2 separate regions of the Homo sapiens genome follow, and region 2 is linked to region 1. Evidence: promoter capture Hi-C in human tissues and cell types (Jung and others, 2019). All regions are on one chromosome and are shown on one strand. Each heading gives the region's core, a stretch centred on a gene start or on the middle of the fragment in contact. The rest is flanking DNA. Distances are from core to core; before and after follow the strand shown. Region 1 holds the start of AMN1 (antagonist of mitotic exit network 1 homolog). Region 2 overlaps DENND5B (DENN domain containing 5B).

What was found. Contacts are between HindIII fragments. The study calls those that stand out against the background at their distance.
Region 2: a contact is called between a fragment that was not itself captured here and the fragment with the promoter of AMN1 in region 1, in 1 of the 25 tissues and cell types used here (dorsolateral prefrontal cortex).

Annotation. Positions count from the first base shown.
Region 1 is chr12:31,726,721-31,731,832 of GRCh38, reverse strand. AMN1 (antagonist of mitotic exit network 1 homolog) reads left to right here and starts at 2,812. Exons shown (of 7, transcript NM_001113402.2): 1 at 2,812-2,862. The coding sequence starts at 2,825. It overlaps AMN1-AS1 (AMN1 antisense RNA 1), which reads right to left and starts at 2,568. Exons shown (of 1, transcript NR_198987.1): 1 at 629-2,568. LOC105369722 (a long non-coding RNA gene) reads right to left here. Exons shown (of 3, transcript XR_931497.3): 3 at 2,943-3,176. RefSeq lists enhancers at 2,304-2,503, 1,899-2,531, 2,544-2,893 and a silencer at 2,944-3,023. The HindIII fragment of the contact is 7,129 bases long and covers 1-3,702 here.
Region 2 is chr12:31,392,443-31,397,116 of GRCh38, reverse strand. DENND5B (DENN domain containing 5B) reads left to right here. Exons shown (of 21, transcript NM_144973.4): 18 at 4,421-4,503. It also overlaps the pseudogene RNU6-618P. Among named protein-coding and RNA genes, the nearest start is that of LINC02387, 25 kb to the right of the region's middle. The HindIII fragment of the contact is 7,553 bases long and covers 1-4,674 here.

The DNA of each region.
Region 1 (5,112 bases), core at 1,563-4,062:
TTTGATTTTTATTTTGACATAGGGTTCCTGAACTGATTTTTGGGGGGGGGAATCCTGAAGTTGGACGCACCCAGGGCTGGCTTCATGGGTGGGCAAAATGTGCAGTCACACGGGCCCCACTCTGGGTTTAGTGCTCTGCTATCACCATCTTAAAATTCGTAATTTCTTTGTTTTTTTTGAGGTAGAGTCTCACTCTTGTTGCCCAGGCTGGAGTACAGTGGTGTGATCTCGGCTCAGTGCAACCTCCGCCTCCTGGGTTCAAGCAATTCTCCTGCCTCAGCCTCCTGAGTAGCTGGGATTACAGGCACCTGCCACCACGCCCAGCTAATTTTTTTGTACTTTTAGTAGAGTTTCTCCATATTGCCCAGGCTGGTCTCGAACTCCTAACCTCAGCTGATCCGCCCACCTTGGCCTCCCAAAGTGCTGGGATTACAGGCGTGAGGCATGTGCATTTTAGCTTTCTAGATCAGGTGAGGGCACATGGACAAATGGCTCAAGGGTCAAATCCAGTCCACTGTCTGTTTTTGTATAGCTTGCAACTTAAGGATGGCTTTTACATTTTTCAGTGGCTGAAAAAGATCAAAAGATGAGTATTTCATGACAGTTGAAAATTACATAAAATTCAAACTTCAGTGTTTAGGATAAGGTTTTATTGGAACAGAGACCCACCCATTCATACTGTCTATGGCTAATTTTAAGATACAAGTTGAATAGCTGTGACCAAGCCAGCATGACCCACAAAACCTAAAATATTTCTTGTTTGGCTCTGGGAAGCTAAAAGACAACAAAGAAAGAATTCTCCAAAGATACTGAGTTTCTTTGGGAGTGAACAAAAAGAATTATAATCCAAGATGTACAGCTATGGCAAGCCACGGGTCTGGAGAAGGGAAGAATAGGGGGAAGATTTTACTGGTAAAGGAGGGAAGTTCACATAAACTCTTGGAAACTAAGTTGATTGGTTCCCAAGGCTCAAATCAAGAATTGGAGTCCGTTCATTGGTGGAGGTCCTGCTGCTGGGCCAAACGTCCTTTCGACAGTATCTTATCTGAACTGCTGCAGTTTTAAAGAATATTTAGCAATAAATCTTGTCATAGAAATGTGCGCATATTTGCAAAACAAGCAAGTTGTGCAAAACATTAAATGCATGAAAGATGTGAAGAAATTGTGGGTTTTTTGGTTTATTTTTTAAAGTCCTTGAGGCAGTTCGTTCTTTCTTTTTTTTTTTTTTTGAGACGGAGTCTTGCTCTGTCGCCCAGGCTGGAGTGCAGTGGCACGATCTCGGCTCACTATAACCTCCTCCGAGTTCAAGCGATTCTCCTGCCTCAGCCTCCTCAGTAGCTGGGATTACAGGCGCCCGCCACCACACCCAGTTTTTTTTTTTTTTTTTTGTATTTTTAGTAGAGACGGGAATTTCACCACGTTGGCCAGGCTGGTCTCAAACTCCTGACCTCGTGATCCGCCCGCCTCGGCCTCCCAAAGTACTAGGATTACAGGTGTGAGCCACCGCGTCTGGCCTTGAGACAGTTCTTATCTCAGACATACAAGCATGAGTTTCCTTCCTTTCTGGTCTCTAGGCTCCAATTTGTCTGGGTCTGACAATAGTTACTTCTCCTGGAATCTGCAACTTTCAGAGCACTTTATGGAAAAAGTCGGCCAACCCCTGCCCTACACTCACTCTTGATCACTCTCCAGTGTAGCCATCCCAAACTATTTGCAGACCACCCTTTTCTCTCTGATCTGTATCCCACCCCCATGGGTGCTTCCATAGAACTAACCCCATCTAAGCATTTAACAGTTATTCTAATTGCCCTTTTACTTGTCTGACCCAAGTGTTCGCCACTCAATCCTCAGCACCCAGCACGATCCCTAGCCCTCGTTCAGCGCTTAATAAATCCATGTTGATTCAATGTGTAGCATCCTGAACAGGCAACAGCAGTGGGTTCCAACTTTCAAGGAGCTTAAAAAAGGAACTCAGCATACAAACAACAGACTAATCTACAAGGAAGAATGAGGGGGGTGGAGGGAGCACTAAAAAGCAGCAAGTACTCTGCAGCAGAACCAAAGATAAAATTCCACCTAAAGGTGCCCTTTCTTCAGGATCCTTCCTAATTTGAATACAGGTTCCCTTCTCCTCCATGACGAAATTCTTAGTGAGGTTACTTGTTGGTACGCAGTGTCCTCATCTGTAAAATAAGGCTAAATAATTACGATTTCACCGGATTATAATGAATATGGTTAAGTATTGAACTAAGGCCTAGAAAGCACGTAGCTCAGTGCACGCTTCCTAGAAAGTGCTCAGTAAACTCGGATCCTCTAACACGCTCCGTTTGATGTTAATGGAGTCCGTATCCGAGCGGGTCTCCAGTGTGCATCGCCAAGGGTATGGCCCAGCATCCAACGCATCCTTTTAGTAAGAGTAGCGACTTCTCAGCGCTCCCTTCGCCCCAGGAGAGTTCTCGGCTCGCGGCGTCGCGGCGGGGCTGCGCGCTGGGCTGAACTCCCAAGAAACCTCCTGCAGCTGAACCGGAGCAGACGCCCGCCAGGTGAAAGAACTACAACTCCCGTCACGTTGCATCCGAGTTTAGGGCCTCTTTATAGTTTATCACACCCAGCCTCTTCCGCGCAGCCCTCAGTGGCTCCGCCCCAAAGGGGGCTCTCTTCTTTCCTTGTGGAGTCCGAAGCGTGGCCACGCCCCGGTCACCGGAAAAATCCGTGTGACGTCACAAAAACCTACGCGTCGCGCGGTGGGCGGGAGTTGGCGGACGGTCCCTGGCTGGGTTCTGGAGGCCCTGGGACCGCGGAAGAGGCTTCAGACGCTGCAGCGATGCCTCGCCCACGGCGGGTCAGTCAGCTCCTGGATCTGTGAGTCTACCCTGTCCCGCCTCCCTTCGCGCCGCCCCAGCACCTCCTCCAAACGGCCAGGCCCTGCGCTGCTCTTCCTCCCCGCCCCTTTCCCACCCCCCCCGCCGACCTCTGAAGAGGCCCCGCGTGTGTTTCTGTCCCTGGGTTCCTGATCTGTCGTTTCCTGGCTGAGGACAGTTGTGCAAAGTGGGTCTCTTGGCGGGCTTGCCCCTCCAACACTCCGCTGCGCGATGAGCGTCCATTCCTCCGTCAGCCTTGACAGCTCGGCGCCCCGGCTGTTACTGGCAGTGGCCTCTCTCTTAGCAGCTAAAAGCCTTGGTAGAAAAAAACACAACGCTAGATGAGGTTCTCAAAAGCTTCTAGCAGAATTCCACCCCTGTAACTGGAATAAACATTGACAGACCCTGGGATAAAGGTAACAAAGTGGTTAAGACCACGGATCCCTGGCTGAGATTGCTGGGTTCAGCCCCCGGCTCTGCCATTCACCAGCCACGTGACCATGGACCGGTAACGTAACCTCTCCCTGTGCCTAGGTTCTTTATCTATAAAATTTTTGTGATAATAGCACCCATCACATGGAGTTGTCCTGAGGGATAAATTTAAAACATGTAAAACCCTTATAAGGATGCCCAGCAAATAATAAACACCACTAAGTGTTATTGTTATTATTATTTCCTACCAGAAATTGTACGGAAATGGAAGTTACAAGGGCAATTGCGTCTCTCCAGGAGCTTTCAGTCCGTTAATATTGCCATGTAAAAAATAGACATCTTAAGGATAAGGAGAACAATCTCCTTAATCTACTGAAGGCTTTCTGAAACAATGGCATCTGATATTTTACATTAAACTTGGGAGGCCGAGGTGGGAGAACTGCTTGAGCTCAGGAGTTCGAGACCAGCCTGGGCAACGTGGCGAAACCCCGCCTCTACTAAAGATACAAAAATTATCTGGGCACGGTGGTTCACGCCTGTAATCCCAGCACTTTGGGAGGCCGAGGCACTTGAGATCAGGAGAGTTGGAGACCAGCCTAGCCAGCACGGCAAAACCGCGGCATGTACTAAAAATACAAAAATTAGCCAGGAGTAGTAGTGGCGCCGGTAGTCCCAGCTACTCTGGAGGCTGAGGCAGGAGAATCGCCTCAACCCAGGAGGCAGAGGTTGCAGTGAGCTGAGATCGCGCCACTGCACGCCTAGGCTGCTAGGCGACAGAGCGAGACTGTCTCAAAAAAATAAAATAAATAACTATAATATATGTAGAATAATATCACAAGCGGGAGAGTAACAAACTTTTGAAATTTCTAATAAGGAAAAGAATAGGAGAAAGCTTTGTCAAGGGGGTTATTTTTGAACATTGGTAGTATCTGACGGTTGCAAATGGGAGGAAATGTATCGTAGAGAGTGAAATAAAAAGAGTAAAGGTTTGACAGGCAGGAAAGGTAGAAATATGAGAGAAGACCAGAAAGTAGCGCTCCAATGTGAATGGAAGATACAATATGAATAGCACAGTAGTGAGACATAAAGCCAGGTCATTGGGAATAGAATCTTAGGGACCAGGATGAAGTAAGAGCATTTCCTCTTTCAGTCATGGGGAGCTATCAAAGGTTTTAGAACTGTACTGTGAGCAGAGAGAGATTTGAATTAGGCAGAAGTTGGAAATAGGGAGACACTTAGAAGACTGTTACAAAATCTTAAGAGGTGAAGAGCCCAAACCAGGAGACACATGAAGATGTTCTTTGCAGAATTATTTCTGGTGGCATGGAGCTGGAATGGGAGAGTTACCATGGAATATTATGCAGCTGTTAGAAAAGCAAAGGGTAGGCCAGGCATGGTGGCTCACACCTGTAATCCCAACATTTTGGGACCCTGAGGAGGGTGGATTGCTTGAGGCCAGGAGTTGGAGACCAGTCTAGGCAACATGGCAAAACCATGTCTCTACCAAAAATAAAAAGTTAGCCAATCTCATAACCTGGTCTCAAAATAAATAAATAAATAGATAAATAAATGAAAGAAAAGCAAAGAGTAGATTCATTTGGATAGAATTTTAAAACACAGTGCTTAGTGAAAAAAAGAGGAAACAGACTAACAATGTTAAGAAAAATTCTTCAGAACTTGGGGCTAAGACAGGGATGACTACATGATCTTCATTGTCATGCTAGAGTGTGGTCCCTAGGTAAAGGTCCATATTTGCCCTTAGAACCTAATTTTGTACCCTTCTGGGACAAGGTACAGTCTGAGACTGGCAGTTGGTCAG
Region 2 (4,674 bases), core at 744-3,243, 330 kb after region 1:
ACTTCTAATTTATACTAATGTAGGCTTTAATAGACTAAATTACTAATGTAGGCTTTAATAGACTAAATAATGTCTCCCAAAAATATAAAATTCTAACCTCTAGAATCTGTAAATATTGCCTTATTTGGAAAAAGGATTTTTGCAGATGTGATAGGGATCTTGAAATAGGAGATTGTCCTGGATCACATCTACGTGGACCCTAAATGCCATCATATGTATTCTTTCCCAACACTTTGGGAGGCCGAAGTGGGCAGATCACTTGAGATCAGGAGTTTGAGGCCAACCTGGCCAACATAGCAAAACCCCGTCTCTACTAAAAAAACAAAAATTAACCAGGCATGTGGTGCATGCCTGTAATCCCAGCTCCTCAGGAGGCTGAGGCATGAGGATTGCTTGAACCCAGGAGGTAGAGGTGAGGTTGCAGTGAGCCGAGCTCATGCCACTGTATTCCAGCTTGAGTGACAGAGTGACACTCTGTCTTTTTTGGGGGGGTTTTTGGTGCCAATTTTAAATAGTTTTATTTAAAACATTGCATTTTCCACTTACAATACAGTGTTTATAAAGTGCAATGTTATTTCCTTCCCCTGTGCATATGTTCCACATTCAAGTATTGAGAAAAATATGGAATGCTTCACCAATTTGCTTGCCATCCTCGTGCAGGGGCCATGCTAATAATCTTCTCTGTATTGTTCCAGTTTTTTAGTATATGTGCTGCCGAAACAAGCATGACTCTGTCTTTAAAAAAAAAAAAAAAAACAACAACAACAACAACAAATGCTGGCCAGGCATTATGCTGAGGTGGGTGGATCACCTGAGGTCAGGAGTTCAAGACCAGCCTGACCAACATGGCGAAACCCCGTCTCTACTAAAAATACAAAAATTAGCTGGGCATGGTAGTGTGCACCTGTAATCCTAGCTACTTGGGAGGCTGAGACAGGAGAATTGCTTGAACCTGAGAGGTGGAGGTTGCAGTAAGCCAATATCGTGCCACTGCACTACATGCACTACAGCCTGGGCAACAGAGTGAGACTCCGTCTCAAAAAAAAAAAAAAAAAAAAAACAAGGAATGCCAACAGCCACCAGAAGCTAAAAGAGGCAAGGAAGGGATTTTCCCCTAGAATTTCAAGGGAATACAGCCCTGCTGACACCTTGCTTTTTTTTTTTTTTTTTTTTTGGCCCAGTGATAACTAAATTTTGACTTCTGGCCTGCAACAAAATGTATTTCTGTCACTCAAGCCACCAAGTTTTGTGAGTCTATTACAGCAGCCACAGAAGGCAGCCACAGAACATGAATATAGAGGCGGTATTTAGGGAAAAATCACAGAAGTTTATCAGTGAAGGGGCTTTTTATCTATAGATTATAACCACAAGTAGAATAACAAAGGTACCTAATAGGTCCTTAGTTTATTAACAAAGCAGTTTCCCTAGATTCTTCTATTAGTCTCTATCCATTTGCTAGCACATGATTGTGTATTAACTATGAGTGCAGTTTTTTTGTTTTTTTGTTTTGTTTTGTTTTGTTTTGACTGAGTTTTCGCTCTTGTTGGCCATGCTGGAGTGCAGTGGTGCGGTCTCATCTCACTGCAACCTCCGCTTCCCAGGTTCAAGCGATTCTCCTGCCTCAGCCTCCCAAATAGCTGGGATTACGGGCATGCACTGCCACGTGAGGCTAATTTTGTATTTTGGGTAGAGACGGGGTTTCACCATGTTGGCCAGGCTGGTGTTGAACTCCTGACCTCAGGTGATCCTCCCACCTTGACCTCCCAGAGTGCTGGGATTGCAGGCGTGAGCCACTGTGCCCAACCAATTTAAAGCACTTATAGCAACAAATATTGGTGAGGATGTGGAGTAACAGAAAGCTCATGCATTGCTAGTAGGAATACAAAATAACATCTTGGCATTTATAAAGATACATGCACACTTACCGTACGCTTGGCCCAGCAATCTTACTCCTAGATATGTACACAAAAGAAATGAATACATATATCTACACAGACTTGTACCCAGATATTTTGAGAGATTTATTCATAATAGCCAAAAATGGAAACAACCCCAATATACATCAACTGGTGAAAGGATAAACAGATAGTGATATATATCTGTTTATATATCAGATCTCTATAAAAGCAATATAATAATAGAAAGTAGATCATTGGTTGCCAGGAGTTAGGAGCTAAGGAAGGTAACTGAAAAGAGCACAGGATAGGCCGGGCACGGTGGCTCACGCCTGTAATACAGCACTTTGGGAGGCCAAGACGGGCGGATCACAAGGTCAGCAGATCGAGACCATCCTGGCTAACATGGTGAAACCCCGTCTCTACTAAAAATACAAAAAATTAGCCGGGCATGGTGGCAGGTGTCAATAGTCCCAGCTACTCGGGAGGCTGAGGCAGGAGAATGGCGTGAACCCGGGAGGCGGAACTTGCAGTGACCTGAGATCGCTCCACTGCACTCCAGCCTGGGTGACAGAGCGAGACTCCGTCTCAAAAAAAAAAAAAAAAGAGCACAGGGTAACTTTTGGGGATGATGGAAATGTTCTGTATCATGATTGTGGTGGTGGTTACATGACTATCCATTTGTCAAAGCTCATCAAAATTGGTGACTTTTATTACATGGTGAATTTTAATTATGCTGATTTAAAATTTAAAAGTAGGTTTCAGCTCAATCCATCCTAATTATTATAACATCTGAGTCAGTCCAATTTCATGGGGGTATTATCTGAGAGGCTTTTATCCCCCATTTTTTTTTAATCGTACTTTCTTTTCTCATGCTATAAGCAGAAAAGTCTAAATGACCCAAGACTCAGAAATGGATAACGGTATTTTCTCACAGTATGTTATATGTAAAATGGTATTCAGAGAACTGAAAATTTTTAAAATCAGTTTTATAATAATACTGATCAAAGCTCTTTTGGAATGGGTGACAGTTTTCAAAATAGACTTCATGTCTAAAAGAAAAAATAGAGAAAGGTAAAGGTAAAAAAAACAAACAAAAACTACTGGGTAAAGAAACCACTAGGAACAAGAGGCCATGGTATCAGTACTTCAATTATAAGAGGTTTTCATTTTAACAATTTTTATGCATTAGTGTAGAAAAAACCTACTTGAATTTTACTGAAAGAAACGTTAGCCGGGCATGGTGGCTTACGCCTGTAATCCCAGCACTTTGGGAGGCTGAGGTGGGCGGATCACCTGAGGTCAGGAGTTCGAGACCAGCGTGACCAATATGGTAAAACCCTATTTCTACTAAAAATACAAAAAAATTAGCCATGCATGGTGGCCGGCACCTGTAGTCCCAGCTACACGGGAGGCTGAGGCAGGAGAATTGCTTGAACCTGGGAGGCGGAGGGTGCAGTGAGCCGACATTGCACCACTGCACTCCAGCCTAGGAGACAGAGCGAGACTCCATCTCAAAAAAGAAAAAAGAAATGTTCATGCAAGAAATCCTTGAGCAGTATGAATTCAGAGATTCTTAAACATGAGGATGTATGGGTTTTCCTTTATAGTGTGTTAAGTAAATTAGAACTACAAGAAAATCTGAACTATATACCTTTTCTGTTGTTACCTACTTCTGAAATGTTTACCACCTTTTTAAAAAAACAAACCATTCCTTGGGTTTGGTGGACAAAAGTGATTTAGGTCGCATTCAAGCAGCCCACCAACCTGTCCCTCAGGAAAGTGGCCTAGAAGAGCAAGTACTGGCTGGCAGAAGGAAGCAGTGCTGAGACAGATTGACTAGCCAGGAAGGGAGGGAGTTCTGGGCTTCAGGCCCAGATGCCACAGGGTACCTGGCATCTTCCCCTTATTTTAAACACAACAGCAAATCTTCAAACTCCAGGTTAACTATCCAGAGCGCCTGAAGCCTTAATCTATGCCCACTGACAGGCTTGTAGGTAGGTAGCATAAGGGAACATTCCACTAACAGGCTCGTAGGTAGATAGCATAAGGGAACATTTCACTAACAGGCTCGTAGGTGGGTAGCATAAGGGAACATTTGAGGAGTGATGTTGGGACTTCTCAACCTTGCTTCTCATATTTGGGGGCTTGCTAGCATTTTGTGACAGGCGCCATGCTAGTTATTTACTCCTATAACTTACCAGTTTTCCCAGTGAGGCGTGTATTTTTCCTATTTTCAGTTGAGGAAACTGAAAGCTCAGAGGAAGTTAGACACTAGGCTAGGGTTATAGATTGCAGATGGTAATGCTGGGATTTGAATCTAGGGATCGCTTGGATTATTTTCCATTTTGCCAGGATGCTTCCCACTTGGCCAAACAGGCCAGAGGCAAGTTCTATGGAGCCCCTGGCAAAGCCAGCCTGCTCTGATGACGTATTTCCTGCCTAGGTGGACACAGTTGATGTCCCATAGTACTTTGGTTTATTTCTCTCCCATGAGAATGCAGCCACTGTTTATTATTTTACAGAACCCAATGCTGGGCAGATACAAGAAGGAATTGGAGAAGCTGTGAACAATATTGTGAAACATTTTCATAAACCTGAAAAAGAGGTATTTATGGGCTATAAAACTTAGTATAGTGGGACTTTTAAAGATGCTTTTATATGTGATACACGAGGCAATATGGGGTGCTTGAATTTTCATTTGTAAGCTTTCTGGTAGCTGTAAAAACATGCTTCATATAGCTACCTTCAGCACTTGCTTCTCTAGTGTTTTTTTTAG